Regions from separate parts of the Homo sapiens genome. Here all the other regions are linked to region 3. The links are contacts of gene promoters, found by promoter capture Hi-C in blood cells and fetal thymus (Javierre and others, 2016). All regions are on one chromosome and are shown on one strand. Each heading gives the region's core, a stretch centred on a gene start or on the middle of the fragment in contact. The rest is flanking DNA. Distances are from core to core; before and after follow the strand shown.

Evidence for each region. Contacts are between HindIII fragments. The CHiCAGO score rates a contact against its expected background, and 5 or more counts as called.
Region 1: a fragment that was not itself captured here is called in contact with the fragment with the promoter of ZNF777 in region 3 in 9 of 17 cell types (naive CD8 T cells, total CD4 T cells, non-activated CD4 T cells and 6 more); the score reaches 7.2 in naive CD8 T cells.
Region 2: a contact is called between a fragment that was not itself captured here and the fragment with the promoter of ZNF777 in region 3, in 3 of 17 cell types (naive CD4 T cells, naive CD8 T cells and M2 macrophages). The highest score is 5.6, in naive CD4 T cells.

What each region holds. Positions count from the first base shown.
Region 1 is chr7:149,143,974-149,148,654 of GRCh38, forward strand. ZNF398 (zinc finger protein 398) reads left to right here and starts at 3,480. Exons shown (of 6, transcript NM_170686.3): 1 at 3,480-3,793. The coding sequence starts at 3,770. LOC107986856 (a long non-coding RNA gene) reads right to left here and starts at 3,388. Exons shown (of 2, transcript XR_007060581.1): 1 at 3,010-3,388; 2 at 1-2,379. RefSeq lists enhancers at 1,110-1,683, 1,684-2,257, 2,258-2,831, 2,925-2,974, 3,406-3,979 and silencers at 3,285-3,924, 3,589-3,760, 4,055-4,204, 4,345-4,394. The HindIII fragment of the contact is 4,715 bases long and covers 52-4,681 here.
Region 2 is chr7:149,199,509-149,203,635 of GRCh38, forward strand. All of the region lies in intron 2 of ZNF282 (zinc finger protein 282), which reads left to right. Among named protein-coding and RNA genes, the nearest start is that of ZNF282, 6.0 kb to the left of the region's middle. RefSeq lists an enhancer at 3,465-3,965. The HindIII fragment of the contact is 4,592 bases long and covers 433-4,127 here.
Region 3 is chr7:149,458,415-149,463,147 of GRCh38, forward strand. ZNF777 (zinc finger protein 777) reads right to left here and starts at 2,648. Exons shown (of 6, transcript NM_015694.3): 1 at 2,401-2,648. RefSeq lists silencers at 1,309-1,668, 1,679-1,758, 2,049-2,118, 2,289-2,628. The HindIII fragment of the contact is 6,109 bases long and covers 947-4,733 here.

The DNA of each region.
Region 1 (4,681 bases), core at 1,159-3,658, 310 kb before region 3:
TTACATCTGCTTCTGAAAATATTGTGCATCTTCTTTAAACAGTACACAAAAAGCTTCAGTCAGTGAAATTGCTTAATGAAATGCCAGTACCATCCAAAGAATTTTTAAGGCCAAGAATTAAATAGGAAGAATTTCTTGTCTTAATATATTCCTATTCAAGGAAGGAACATTTAATAAGTTGGTGGTAATATTACCATATTAAAGCAGAGAGGTAGCCTTGCTTTCTATGGAGCTCAGTTGGAAGTCTTATTTAGTAATACAAATGTCCCTGTTAAATGGCCATAGGAGCATCTGACAGAAATTGTTGTTCTTGCCTTATAACATCAAACTTGAAAACTTTACTACTTTTTTTTTGGAGATGGGATGTCAGTCTGTCGCCCAGGCTGGAGTGCAGTGGTATTATTACAGCTCACTGCAGCTTCAACCTCCCTGGCTCAAGTGATCTTACCTCAGCCTCCCGAGTAACTGGGTCGACAGGTGTGCATTACCATTTCAGGCTAATTTTTGTATTTTTTTATGGAGACAGGGTCCCACCAGGTTGCCCTGACTGGCCTTGAATTCTTGGGCTCCAACAATCTACCCACCTCGGCCTCCCACTGTGCTCGGCTACTACATTTTTTTTTTTCTTTTTTGAGATGGAGTTTCACTCTTGTTTCCCAGGCTGGAGTGCAATGGTGCAATCTCCGCTCACTGCAACCTCCTCCTCCTAGGTTCAAGTGATTCTCCTACCTCAGCCTCCTGAGTAGCTAGGATTATAGGCACCCACGACCACGCCCGGCTAGTTTTTCTATTTTTAGTAGAGATGGGGTTTCACCGTGTTGTTCAGGCTGGTCTCCAACTCCTGACCTTAGGCGATCCACCCACCTCGGCCTCCCAAAGTGCTGGGATTATAGGCGTGAGTCACCGTGCCCGGCTTCTCGGCTACTACATTTTAAATAATAAAATTATACAACAGAATTTTCTTTCCAAGAAAATTCAGATTATTATTTTTTTGTAATCTACTCATATTGTGAGTCAGAGAATGGCAATTTTCATTATTAAGCATTCACCATCTGACAAATATGTATATTCAGGTAAATCCCAAATTACGGACTGCATATGTAGCCACAGGCGAAAAGTAACTTAGTCTGCTCAAGAGCAGTTGCCCCAACAGGATAGTTCTCATACTTTTGTGATTTACAGATAGTTATACTGTTATGGGCATTGACTTGATTCATGTGTTGAAATACAGGTTTAGCAGGGTTTGATTCATACATGTTTGAAATGAAGACTTCCTGGAAAACCAGGGTCATGTGCTTATCCTATCACCACACACATGAAACCGCCCCAACAGGGTTCACAAAAATTGCATGCAGGTTCTGGACAGAAATATAGTTATAATTAAGCATTAATCAGGCTGCACTTCGGCCTACTTCCTTGTTGCTAATAGTCACAAGGCACTAGATACTGACATTTGCATCTCTATTGTTCCTATAGATAGGATTTCAGACATCAGACTAAGAATTGATTTGCATCCCTGTTGTTCCTGTAGACAGGATCTCTGACATTAGAATCATAAGGCTTTTGTTTAAGGATCGCTTAAGATGTTTTTCAGACCACGAGTTCCGGTGAAACAGTTGAGTTCAACCAGTTTGAAGACCCCCCACAGAGGAATGGGATGAGCATGAGAATGTAGTTTCTTCATCTCCTTGTACCACGATTTCACCAGCACTCTCCCACCAATCAGTCAACTCCATTACCCTTACAAACTCTAACCCCAAATTCCCAAATTCCTAGCAGAGATGGATGTGAGGCTTCTTCCTGTCTCCTCCTTAGGTGGCCCTATGATTAGACCTCTTTCTCTGCTGCAACCTGGTGTCTCTGCATATAGACTTGCTATGTGCATTGGGCAAGGAACCTACTGCTGTTACACACACTCTGTTGACTTAAAACACAACCTCACCAGAAAACACTTTGTTCTCGCAGGTCCTTTTTTTTTTTTTTTTTTTTTAAGATGGAGTCTAGCTCTGTCGCCCAGGGTGGAGTGCAGTGCTGCCATCTCTGCTCACTGCAACCTCCGCCTCCTGGGTTCCAGCGATTCTCTTGCCTCAGCCTCCGGAGCAGCTGGAATATCAGGTGCACGACACCACGCCCGGCTAATTTTTGTATTTTTTAGTAGAGACGGGGTTTCACCATGTTGGCCAGGCTGGTCTGGAACTCAGGTGATCTGCCCGCCTCGGCCTCCCAAAGTGCTGGAATTACAGGCGTGAGCCACTGCGCTCGGCCTGTTCTCGCAGGTCCTTTTGCTCAGACGCAGCAAACCGTAACCCCAAGCTCGATCTCTGCTGCTCTCAGGAATTCCACTTCCTCCAGCTTGGGCAACATAGCGAGACCCTGTCTCTACAGAAAAATAAATAAGTAAATAAATAAATACAAATAAATAAAACATTAGCCGGGCTTGGTAGCTGCGCCTGTAGTCCAAGATGCTCGGGCAGGCTGAGGGGAAGGATCGTTTGAGCCCAGCAGTTTAAGGCTGCAGTGAGCCTTGTTTGTGCCACTTGCACTCCAGCCTGGACGACAGAGGGAGACTGTCTCTAAATAAATCAATAAATAAGGCCGGGCGCAATGGCTCACGCTTGTAATCCTAGCACTTTGGGAGGCCAAGGCGGGTGGATCATTTGAGGTCAGGAGTTTCAGACCAGCCTGGCCAACATGGTGAAACCCCGTCTCCACTTAAAAAAAAAAAAATTAGCTGGGCATGGTGGTACATGCCTGTAATCCCAGCTACTTGGGAGGCAAAGGCAGGAGAATCGGTTGAACCCGGAAGGCGGTTGCAGTGAGCCGAGATCCCGCCACTGCACTCCAGCCTGGGCGACGGAGTGAGACTCCGTCTCTAAATAAATAAATAAACAAAAATTAAGAATCCTATTTCCAGACCAGGCCCCGGAGAGTCAATAATCCGAGATGTGAAGGAGACCTTAAAATATTATTGATCCCAACACAGGCCGCGTGGGACCTGAACCGCCTCACCTTGGCAACCACATTTGTAATTTCCGCAAATGATCTATATCTTCTTCATTCCAAAATTGTGCCTCTCCGTCACTCATTCCACCCATAGGCTCCCTTCAGCCGTGTCCCCCTTACTCTCACCCTGCACATTTCCGCTGTTCTAAATACGGCTGCCCTTCAGCAGAAGCTGTTGCCTGCAGACGGCGCCTGCGTATCGAGCCTCCGTGAAGAAAATCACTCCCCAGAATGAGCCCGGCTTTGCGGCTGGGTCCTAAACTGCGGTGAGCTGAACCTTCTCGTGGGAATGTGAGAAAGCGGAACACACGTGGGCCCCAAATAACAACCCTCCCCACACCGAAGCCCAAGAGCTGGGGGGGAGGGGCGGAGGCGACGCGGGGGGCGCTGGCCGCAGGGGCCGGCAGGGGGCGCGCTGGCCGCGGTGGCTGGGCAGCGCGAGCCTGCGGCGCGTCTAGGCCCGCGCGGTTCCCGGTGCACTCGCTGCCCACAAAGCGCCAGCTGAGGGGCCGCTGCGGGTGGAGTGCGGCGGAGTCGGCCTCGCGACCCCAGCTTGATCCGCCGCCTGCTGCACCGCGCCTCCGCCGCGTTCCTGCGCGTCCCGAGCCCCGACGGCCGCGTGAGTCCCGTCCGTGCGGGGAAGGCAGGGCCGGGTCGGCGCCGCCTGTGGAGAGGACCCGGCGGCCGGGCCTGCTTGGAGCCGGGCGCGGTGGCAGCGGCGGCAGCGGCGGCGACTTCCGAGGCCCGGGCTAGACAGCGCAGGGCCATGGCTGAGGCGGCCCCGGCCCCGGTAAGGGCGGCCGCGCGCGAGTGTTGTGAGCCCCCGAGACCCAGACCCCGAGGGAGGAAGGCGGGCGGGCAGGGAGCTGCCAGGCATAGGCGCCGTTCTCGGGTCCCGCCGGCCACGTCGCCTGTCGCCCGTGCTTGGCGGCTGCAGCCTCGCGTGAGGGGACTTAGCGGGTGGGTGTGAAACCGCCCACCCGGGGACACCAGGCTGGGCCGCAGGTCTGAGGGGCACTCGCAGGCAGCTATGAGACCCGGGGCCCTGCAGTTGGGTTGAAGTCGAGGGGGTGCCTGCTGCGTGTCAGCCCCACGCCTGCCCGCCAGACGCGCAGCGGGGTTGGGCTGGGGAGCCGTCAGCCATTCTCGCGGCCGCGGGAGCGTTCGTCACCAGCAATCTGAGCGGTGGCGCGGGCGGCATTTAAGTGTGCGGAGGCGCATTCCCGCCGCGCTGCGTGACGCCTGGGCTCCCGGCACCGGACTCGGGACACGCGGGAGGCCCTCCCGAAATAGCTGCCGAATGAATGGTGCGGACCCGGAGGCTGGAGTGGCCTCGCGTGCGTGGCGGTTCATTCGCGGGTGTTTGCCAAGGCCTGCGGGGGCCGGCAGCGGCCAGTTGCCAGGGCGACCGAGGCGACCGGGCCGCGCCTGCACGCAGCCCCGTAGAATGAGAAGGGGACGGTCAGGCCGCGGGGAAAGCACTGATCGCATTTGCCACCCAAGAGGTCTTTGGTCACCTCTAGGAGAGCAATTGTACTGGGTCAGGAGCCACCCTGGCACATGAGGGGTGACTGGGAAAAGGAGGAAGAGCAGCGATGGGTAGGGGGTAGAGCAGAGGGAAGTGCCACCTCCACTCTTGGACCTGTTTTTCTTTTTTCCAACCTTTTTTTTTGTGTAT
Region 2 (4,127 bases), core at 1,479-3,978, 260 kb before region 3:
TGTCCGTCTTTAACAGAAAACCTCCCTGGGCCCTGCATCTACCTGCATTGGTGCCTCATTTCTCCACTCCTCTTTAGAGCAGAACCCCTTGAAAGAGTTGTCTATACTTGTTGTCTCCAATTCTTTCTTCCCCATTTTCTCTCCTTCCCTCCCTTTTCCCCTTCTCTTTATTATAGAATATTCAAATAAAAATAGACAGAATAGTATAATGGGTCCCCATGTATCCAAATTCCAGCTGCATTAGCTGCTAACTCTTGGCCAGTCTTGTTTCACCTAAATCCCTGCCCACTTCCCCACTCCCATTTTATTTTGAAGCAAACCCCAGACATTAGTCATTTCCTTTGCAAATATGTCAGTATTAGCTCAAAAGGTAAAGACTCTTTTTTTTTTAAGTGATAATCTCAATGTTATTACCACCACCACCATAGTAAAAGCTTCAGCCTAGATCACTGTCTAGCCAGTGATTAGATTTTCAGTTGTTTCAATTTTTAAAAACATTTTTTTAGTTTGAATTAGGATTCAAGTAATGTCCACACATTATGTTTGAGATGTCTCTTAAGTCTTTTTTAATCTGCGGGCATCTCTTCCATCTATTATTTTTCCTTTCAGTTTATCTGGAAGGAATTGGGCCACCTGTCCTGTTTTGCATCTCGCTGTCTGGATTCCACTGATTACGTCCCCTGTGGTCTCATTTAACATGTTCCTCTATTCTCAGTATTCCAGTTGATTGGTAACTGGATCTTTCTCTCTGGAACGCACTCTGATCAGGCCTTTGCTCACTAATGATGTCCGTGGTGTTACAGCCAGTGGTTGCTTCTCAGTCTTCATCCTCCCTGTCCTGTCAGCAGCATTGTGTGTAGGTGACCACTCTCTCCGTGAAACCCCTTGCCGTGGCTTCTGGGACACCTCTCTCTGCTGAGTCTTTTCCTACCTCACCAGCTGCTGTGTCTCATTGTTTGCCAATTTTGCCTCCTTTGGCCAGCTTTCTAATGCATGGAGTGGGCCAGACCTCTGTCTTGGCCTTTTGCTCTTTATTTACTCTCCTCCCTCATGACTGCATCCCGTCTCACAGTCTTTATTATTTATTTATTTATTTATTTTTTTTGAGACAGAGTCCCGCTCTGTTGCCCAGACTGGAGTGCAGTGACGTGATCTTGGCTCACTGCAACCTCTGCCTCCAGGGTTCAAGTGATTCTCCTGCCTCAGCTGCCCTAGTAGGTGGGATTACAGGCATCTGCCACCATGCCCACCTAATTTTTTGTATTTTTAGGGGAGACGGGGTTTCACCATGTTGGCCAGGCTGGTCTCGAACTCCTGACCTCAGGTGATCCACCTGCCTGGGCCTCCCAAAGTGCTGAGGTTACAGGCGTGAGCCACCACGCCCAGCTAGTCTCACATTATTAAAAGCAATCTGTATGCTCTCACCTCCCAAATAGATGCTTTCTCTCCCCTGCTCCCTTTCTATATGTTGCCCAGCTTTCTTTCTGGAATGCCAGATTCACATTCCTACCTATTAATTCATTTGGATGTCAGTAAATCTTAGATTTAACATGTCCAAAGTGAACTGCGGATCGCCTGCCTGAGACCTGTTCTACCTGAAGTTGTCCTCATCTCCGTTGATGACGGATGGTTCCATCCTTTCAAGTGCTCAGGCCAAAGCCTTGGAGTCATACTTGTCTCCTCTCTTTCTCACACCCTACTTCCAATCTATTAGTAAATACCCTGATTTTTCTTCAGAATATATCCACAACCTGGCCACTCCTCACCACCTCCACTCCCATCGCCATCGTCTGGTCCCAGGCACCATGGTCTTTCATCTGATTTTTGCCATGGCCTCCTGGTGGGTCTCATTGTCTTCATCCTTGTCCCCCCACCCATACAGTCTATCTCAACACAGCAGCCAGAGTGATCCTTTGAAAATGTGAAGCAGTCACATCACACCTCTGCTTAAACCTCCCAAATGGCTGGGCACGGTGGCTCACGCCCATAATCCCAGCACTTTGGAAGGCCGGGCAGGTGGGTCATGTGAGATCAGGAGTTCAAGACCAGCCTGGCCAACATGGTGAAACCCCATCTCTACTAAAAATACAAAAATTAGCTGGGCATGGTGGCAGGCACCTGTAATCCCAGCTACTCAGGAGGCTGAGGCAGGAGAATTGCTTGAACCTGGGAGGCAGAGGCTGCAGTGAGCTGAGATCTTACCACTGCACTCCAGCCTGGGTGACAGAGTGAGAATCTGTCTTAAAAAAAACCCAAAAAACACCTCCCAAATGGCTTCCCATCTGATTAGAATAAAAGCCCATGTCTGTTTATGGCCCACGCTCTCTTCCCCTGCCTCTCTGACCTCCTCTGCATCCACTCCCTCCTGCTCACTCCCATCTGTGCTGTTCTGCCAGCACACCACGTGCGCCCCCAGCTCAGGGACTCTCCACTGAGAAGCTCCTGCCCTGAATATCTGCATGGCCGTCCTCGCCACCTCTTCCATCAGGGTCTGCTGAGGTGCCACTTCATCAGCATGCCCTTCTACAACCATCCTATATGAAAGAACCACGTCCCCCAAGCACACTCGTCTCCCTGCCCTTACTCGAATTTTCTACAAAGCACTTTTGCCATTGACATCTTAAATATTTAAGATATGCTTCTTTTTTTTTTTTTTTTTTTTGAGACAGAGTCTTGCCCAGGCTGGAGGGCAGTGGTACAATCTCGGCTCACTGCAACTTCTGCCTCCCAGGTTCAAGCGATTCTCCTGCCTCAGCCTCCCGAGTAGCTGGAATAACAGGCATGTGCCACCATGCCCGGCTAATTTTTCTTTTTTTTTTTTGAGACGGAGTCTTGCTCTATTGCCCAAGCTGGAGTGCAGTGGTGCGAACTCGGCTCACTGTAAGCTCTGCCTCCCGGGTTCACACCATTCTCCGGCCTCAGCCTCCCAAGTAGCTGGGATTACAGGCACACATCACCACGCCCGGCTAATTTTTCTATTTTTTTTTAGTAGAGACGGGGTTTCACTATGTTGGTCAGGCTGGTTTCGAACTCCTGACCTCGTGATCTGCCCGCCTTGGCTTCCCAGAGTGCTGGGATTACAGGTGTGAGCCACCGCGCCTGGCCTAATTTTTGTATTTTTTAGTAGAGACAGGGTTTCACCATGTTGTCCAGGCTGGTCTCAAACTCCTGACCTCAAGTGATCCATCCGCCTCAGCCTCCCAAAGTGCTGGGATTACAGGCGTGAACCACTGCACCTGGCCTTATGATATTATTCTTAAGTTTTGTATTGCTTTTTTTGTCTTCTTGGTTGGTTTTCCCCAACCAGAGTGTAAATTCTGCTTGGTTGCCTGCTGCATCCCTGTGCCTGGAATGGTACCTGGCTTAGACTGGTATGCAAAAAATGTTTGTGGAGTGCCTCTCTCCAGCTGGAGAGCTAACAGCTTCCTGGCAGGGACTGGGTCTTGTGTGTCTCTGTGTCTGCTGAGGCAACCACCCCAATGACTTTGCCAGAGGAGTTGTTTGACGTTACTCATTGAGGCTTCACAGAACTGAGTTGTAATCGTGGCTCTGGTTCCTCAGCAAAACATTTCCTGGCACTGCAGCCACAGAGGCTGGTTTTTAGTATGGTTTTGCATATGTCGCTTGTCTAGCACAATCAGCATTTACGTACACACTGCCCTTTTCTTTTGTCTGTTCTGTGTGTCTCAGCGCATATCCTTGTGTGGCACTGTGGCGTGTTCTGTGCGCTGCATTAGGCATTAGAGGAGACTTGACTTGACAAGGGCTCTTACAGAATAATGAAATGGTTTTGGGGTCTGGAATCAGAGGACTTGGGTTTAAATCCTGACTTTGCCACTTACTGGTTTTTTGTTTTTTTGGGACGGTCTCACATTGTCATCCAGGCTGGAGTACAGTTATACAATCATAGCTCATGCAGCTTTGAACTCCTGGGCTCAAGCAATCCTTCCACCTCAGTCTCTCAATTAATTAGGACTATAGGCACATGCCACCACACCCAGTTAAGTTTTTTATTTATTTTTATTCTTTGTAGTGACAGGGTCTTGCTTTGTTGCCGAGGCTGGTCTTGAACTTCTGGGCTCAAGCAGTCTTCCTGCCTTGGCTTCCCAAAGTGCTGGGATTATAGG
Region 3 (4,733 bases), core at 1,398-3,897:
TGCCTAGCACTAGAAAGAAGAAGAGGAAAAAATCCCTGGGGAGCAAGTTAGTCTCTCTGAGTAATGCAGAGGTTTAACTGAAACAATGAAACAAAACAAAACAAAACAAAACAAAACAAAACAAAACAAAACCCTCCAGTATAGTAAACAGAGCCAGCAGACCAAGGCATCTTTACCAGCTAGACAAATCAGAGCTCAAAGGAAAATACTATTTCTTTGCTATTATTAGACTGTCTCTCTCCATTTCCGGATTTGGAGGACTGTAGAGGGGCCACAGGAGGGTGTTCCCTCCCTCGCCTCCCAAATAAAAGCCCTTTGCTATAATTTAATCCATCCCGGTAAACCTGCCGCTTATCTTACCCTAAGCAGAAAGAAATGACCAAAGAGAGGGAGGGAGCTGTAAATATACCTAAAACGAATAAGCTCAAATTCTCAAATTCCTGGTAGGGGGTTGGAGGGAGAATTCTTCTGAACCATATTTGTAGGATTTAACGGTCCCTCCTTCCCCGACGGATCAGGAGTGGATGGATTCTCCAGGATTCATGCCACATTAGCAGAAGCATCCATAACCACAGTATCTGACTTATTAAGAAAGTCATGGCATTTTTTTGAATGACCCAGTATGGTTCACCCAGCATTATATACCATTCAAGGGCCCCGAAGGCCTGAGCCCAGAGTAAGGCATGTAAACATCTTCGTTTGATTTTATTTTCTCATGAGTTTTTTTTTGATTAAAGAATTGGGATGCTTTTTAGAAAGCTATATATCCTGCCTCCTTCCTGTGTACACAATAGGAAACTGAGGCTCAAAGGCACTGACTCCCATGCAGTAATCCTCTCACTAGCACGGCCAGGGCGTCTCAAAGAGCAGGTCTGCGGGAGGATCTGAGGGATGATTTTTTAAGAGTGTCTTCCTGAAGAGGAACATCAGCCCCCAACCCCTGAGAAGCTTACTCCCCAGACACCATCTGTCAGGGCACTCAAAGTTTAGCCTACGACCTTCCAGACGCAGAGGCCGGAGGCAGAGGCTGGAGCTCAGAGGGTCACCTGCTCCCACCGCGGAGATGCCCAGCTGGGCGCTGCCCGGCCTCCCCCGCCGCCCCCGACGGGCCGCGTCCGCTGCCAGGGCGGCCCAGCCCCTCACCCAGGGGCGGCCGCCGCCAGAGCCACCCCCTCCCCGTCCAGGCCCGCAGCCCTCTGGGCAGGCCTTTCTGGGGCTGCCGCACCGTGCCACGGATGCCTTGCTACGTGACCTTGGGGCCGGCAGGGCGGGTCGCCGCCAGGTGTCTGTGCCTCAGTGTCTCCGTTCTGCGAAATGGGAGAGCCGCGTCAGCGCCGCGCCCGGGCCGGGGAAGGCTCCGCGGGGCCGAGCTCTGCGGAAAACGTGCCGGCGGCTACCCCGACGGACGCAGCGCGGGCCCCGCAGGGAGCGAGCGCGCCTCCGGGCGCCCCACCTCGGGGCCGCGTGTGTGCCGGGCCGGGCGTGAGAGCAGCCTCCCTCGCACGGACGGCGGCGAGGCCCGTAGCCCTCCCCCACCGCCCGGGTCAAGACGCGCGGGCCCCCTCCAGGGCGCCCCCACCCCCCGCGCCAACGTCGTAGCGTTTCTGCCCCTTACCGAGATCCCAGGCCGGGCCGCCGAGCCCGGGACACGCAGGCCGTCCCCGGGGCCCCGAGGCCGCGCGTCCGTGCGCGCGCGGGCCGCCCTCACAGGAGCCGGGGCCGCCTCGGCCATGGCCCTGCGCTGTCCGGCCCGGGCCCCCGGAGTCGCCGCCGCTACTGCCGCCGCCGCTACTGCGCGCGGCCCCACGCAGGCCCGGCCGCCCGGCGCTCTCCGCAGGCGGCGCCGGCCCAGCCCTGTCTTCCCCGCCGGGGCTCGCGCGCGGCCGTCGGGCCCCGGCCTGCTCGGGGCGCGCGGGGCGAGCGGGCGCGGGGTCGCGGAGCCCGAGCGGCGGCGTCGGAGCTGGGCGCGCGGCTGTGCGGGCGGCCCGGCCGGCTGCGTCCCGGCGGCGAGCTGGGCCCCGGCCCTCAACGGCGGCCCCCGGCCCGCGCGCCGCCCCTCTGCGGCCGCGGCTGGGACCCCAGCTCCGGCCCCGGCCCCGGCTGCGAGCTGCGCTGCCGTCCCGGCGCCTCTTTAGCAGGGGAGCTGCACAGCAGCTGCCATGTTGCTACAAACTGCATCCTGGGAGGCATGTCCCTCTCAGGCCGTTTAAAGAGAAACACTCCGAGGCTCGTCGGAGGCTGCCGGAACCCAGACAGCTCCATCTACAGCCGGTAGGAGCGAACAGTGTCGAGCGAGCCGCCCGGCGGCGACGGACACGCCCTGAGCCCGGGCCAGCCCGTCGTGGAGCCCGGGCCGAACCGCCGGGGCCTCCCACCCTCCAGGACCCTCCGGCCTCTCACCTGGGGTCCTCGCCTGCCCAGGCACCCTCGGGCGAGGCCGGGAGGCGCGCGGGCGGAGGCGCAGTCGGAGCGCGCAGCCCAGGCGACGTGCTGGGGTCTGGAGGCGGCTTGATTGGCTCCGACAGCCTTCCTCCCGCCGATCCCCTGCGCCTCTCACACCCAGAACCCGGGGTCGTTCCCTTTCAAAACCTGCGCTCACAAAGGGATCTAAGAAACCCGTCACACCAGAGAAAGCCCGGAGTTCATGTGACCAGCTCAGTGCAGCCCGGGTTCCAGGGACGCGGGCTGTGCTTCCAAGGGGAGCCAGGGGGTTGGGTGCTTTTGTGAAATGCCCGAGTGTTGTTTTCGACATGAAAGGACCGAATTCCTAGAATCAGACCCTGCTGGGGCTGGAAGTGGCCAGACGGGTCATTTAGGAGGAAACTGAGGCCGAGTGGGCAGCGACTTGTTTACCCTCAGTCACAGTATGAATGAATGCTCTTTGTAACCATGAGAAGTCCCAAAAGAAATGCAGGAGCTTAGAGTTGAGAACTCCCCTTCCTGGACAGGTCCACTTAAACATGTATTAATTGAATACCTACGAGGTGGCGAGAACTGGGGATGAATTGAAAAGGAAAAAAAAAGAAGAAACTATAGGCAGGCGTCCTGGTTACTAGCGATGAAGCCCAACTGGAACTAACTTAAGTGAGGGAAGACGGCGGGGGGGAGCAGAGGACATTGTGTTTACCTAATGGAACCCCAGGAGTGGAGCTGGTCTTGGAAGGCAACAGGACTCAGTATGCTGGCAGCTCAGATAATGGAAAGTTATGGCCAGACGTGGTGGCTCATGCCTGTAATCCCAGCACTTTGGGAGGCTGAGGTGGGCAGATCACGAGGTCAAGAGATCGAGACCAACCTGGCTAACGTGATGAAACCCTGTCTCTACTAAAAATACCAAAATTAGCTGGACGTGGTGGCGCGGCCCTGTAGTCCCAGCTACTTGGGAGGCTGAGGCAGGAGAATCTCTTGAACCCGGGAGGCAGAGGTTGCAGTGAGCCGAGATCGCCCCACTGCACTCCAGCCTAGGGGACAGATCAAGACTCCGTCTCAAAAAACAAAAAAAAGGAAAGTTACAGATAGAGGTAAGGCCAGAGCTATGCATCCTGTCCCCTCCCTTCCCGGAGGCTAGAGTTCTCACCCAGGTCTTTATGCATTAACTAACATGTGTGCATTCGTAAACAATGCACACTACTGGTTTTGGTATTTTTACATTTTATGTGAATGATATTATCCAGTCCCTATCCTGTTGCAACTTGCTTTTTTCCATGGGTCATTTTGTTTTTGAGATACAGACATGTTTAAACAAGAATATCTGGTTCATTCATTTTACCCACAATATAGTATTTCATTGAATACATAAACTACAGTTTACGTTCCATTCCCCCTAGAGGAATGAGAACAAACCTGCTGCCAGCGACATCTGCATGCATGTCTCATTGTGCACTGCTAAAGTGCGTCTCTAGAGACGCCTAGACATGGGACTCTGGATGGCAAGAGCACCTTCATCTTTCCCCGGCTTCCCGAACTGCTCACTGAAGGGATGGTGCCTACTTACACACCCACTATCGTGTGATTTTCTCTTTCCCCATCCTGGCTCATACTTACTGATAATGGACTCAGAACGTTTGCCGACATGATGACTGTGAAATGGTAGCTCATTATTTTAATTTGTATTTGTATTTCCCTGATTAATGAAGTTGGACATCTTTTCATGTTTACTGACATTTGGTTTCTTCCTCTGTGAATTTCCTCTTCATATCATTTGCCAATGTTTCTGTTGTGAGATCTTTTTCTTATTGGCTTATAGGTATTTCATTAAAAATCTATTCTGGATCTTAATCATATCACCAAACATTTAATGTGATTACTAATACGATTGCATTTAAATCTACCATCTTACTAGTTATTTTCTGTGTGTTCCAGGTGTTCAGTGATACCTCTCTCTCTCTCTCTCTCTCTCCCCAACTGCCTGCTTTGAGGTTGAGGTTTTTTTTTTTAATTCTATTTTTATATTAGTATTCTATTTCTTAGTAATTTCTATTTTTCACCATTCTCTTACTAGTTACATATAATTTTAAATGGTTGTCCTCAGTTTTACAATATACATCTTTAATTTTCTAACAGTCTACATAAATTATGCCACTTCACATATGGTGTGATAACCTTACAACAGGTTATCCCTACCATCTTTTATACTGTTGTTAGCATACATTTTATGTTTATGTATATAATCTCCACAATACCTTGTTAGATGGGCAGATGGCAAATATCTTCTCCCAGCCTGTCTTTTAACA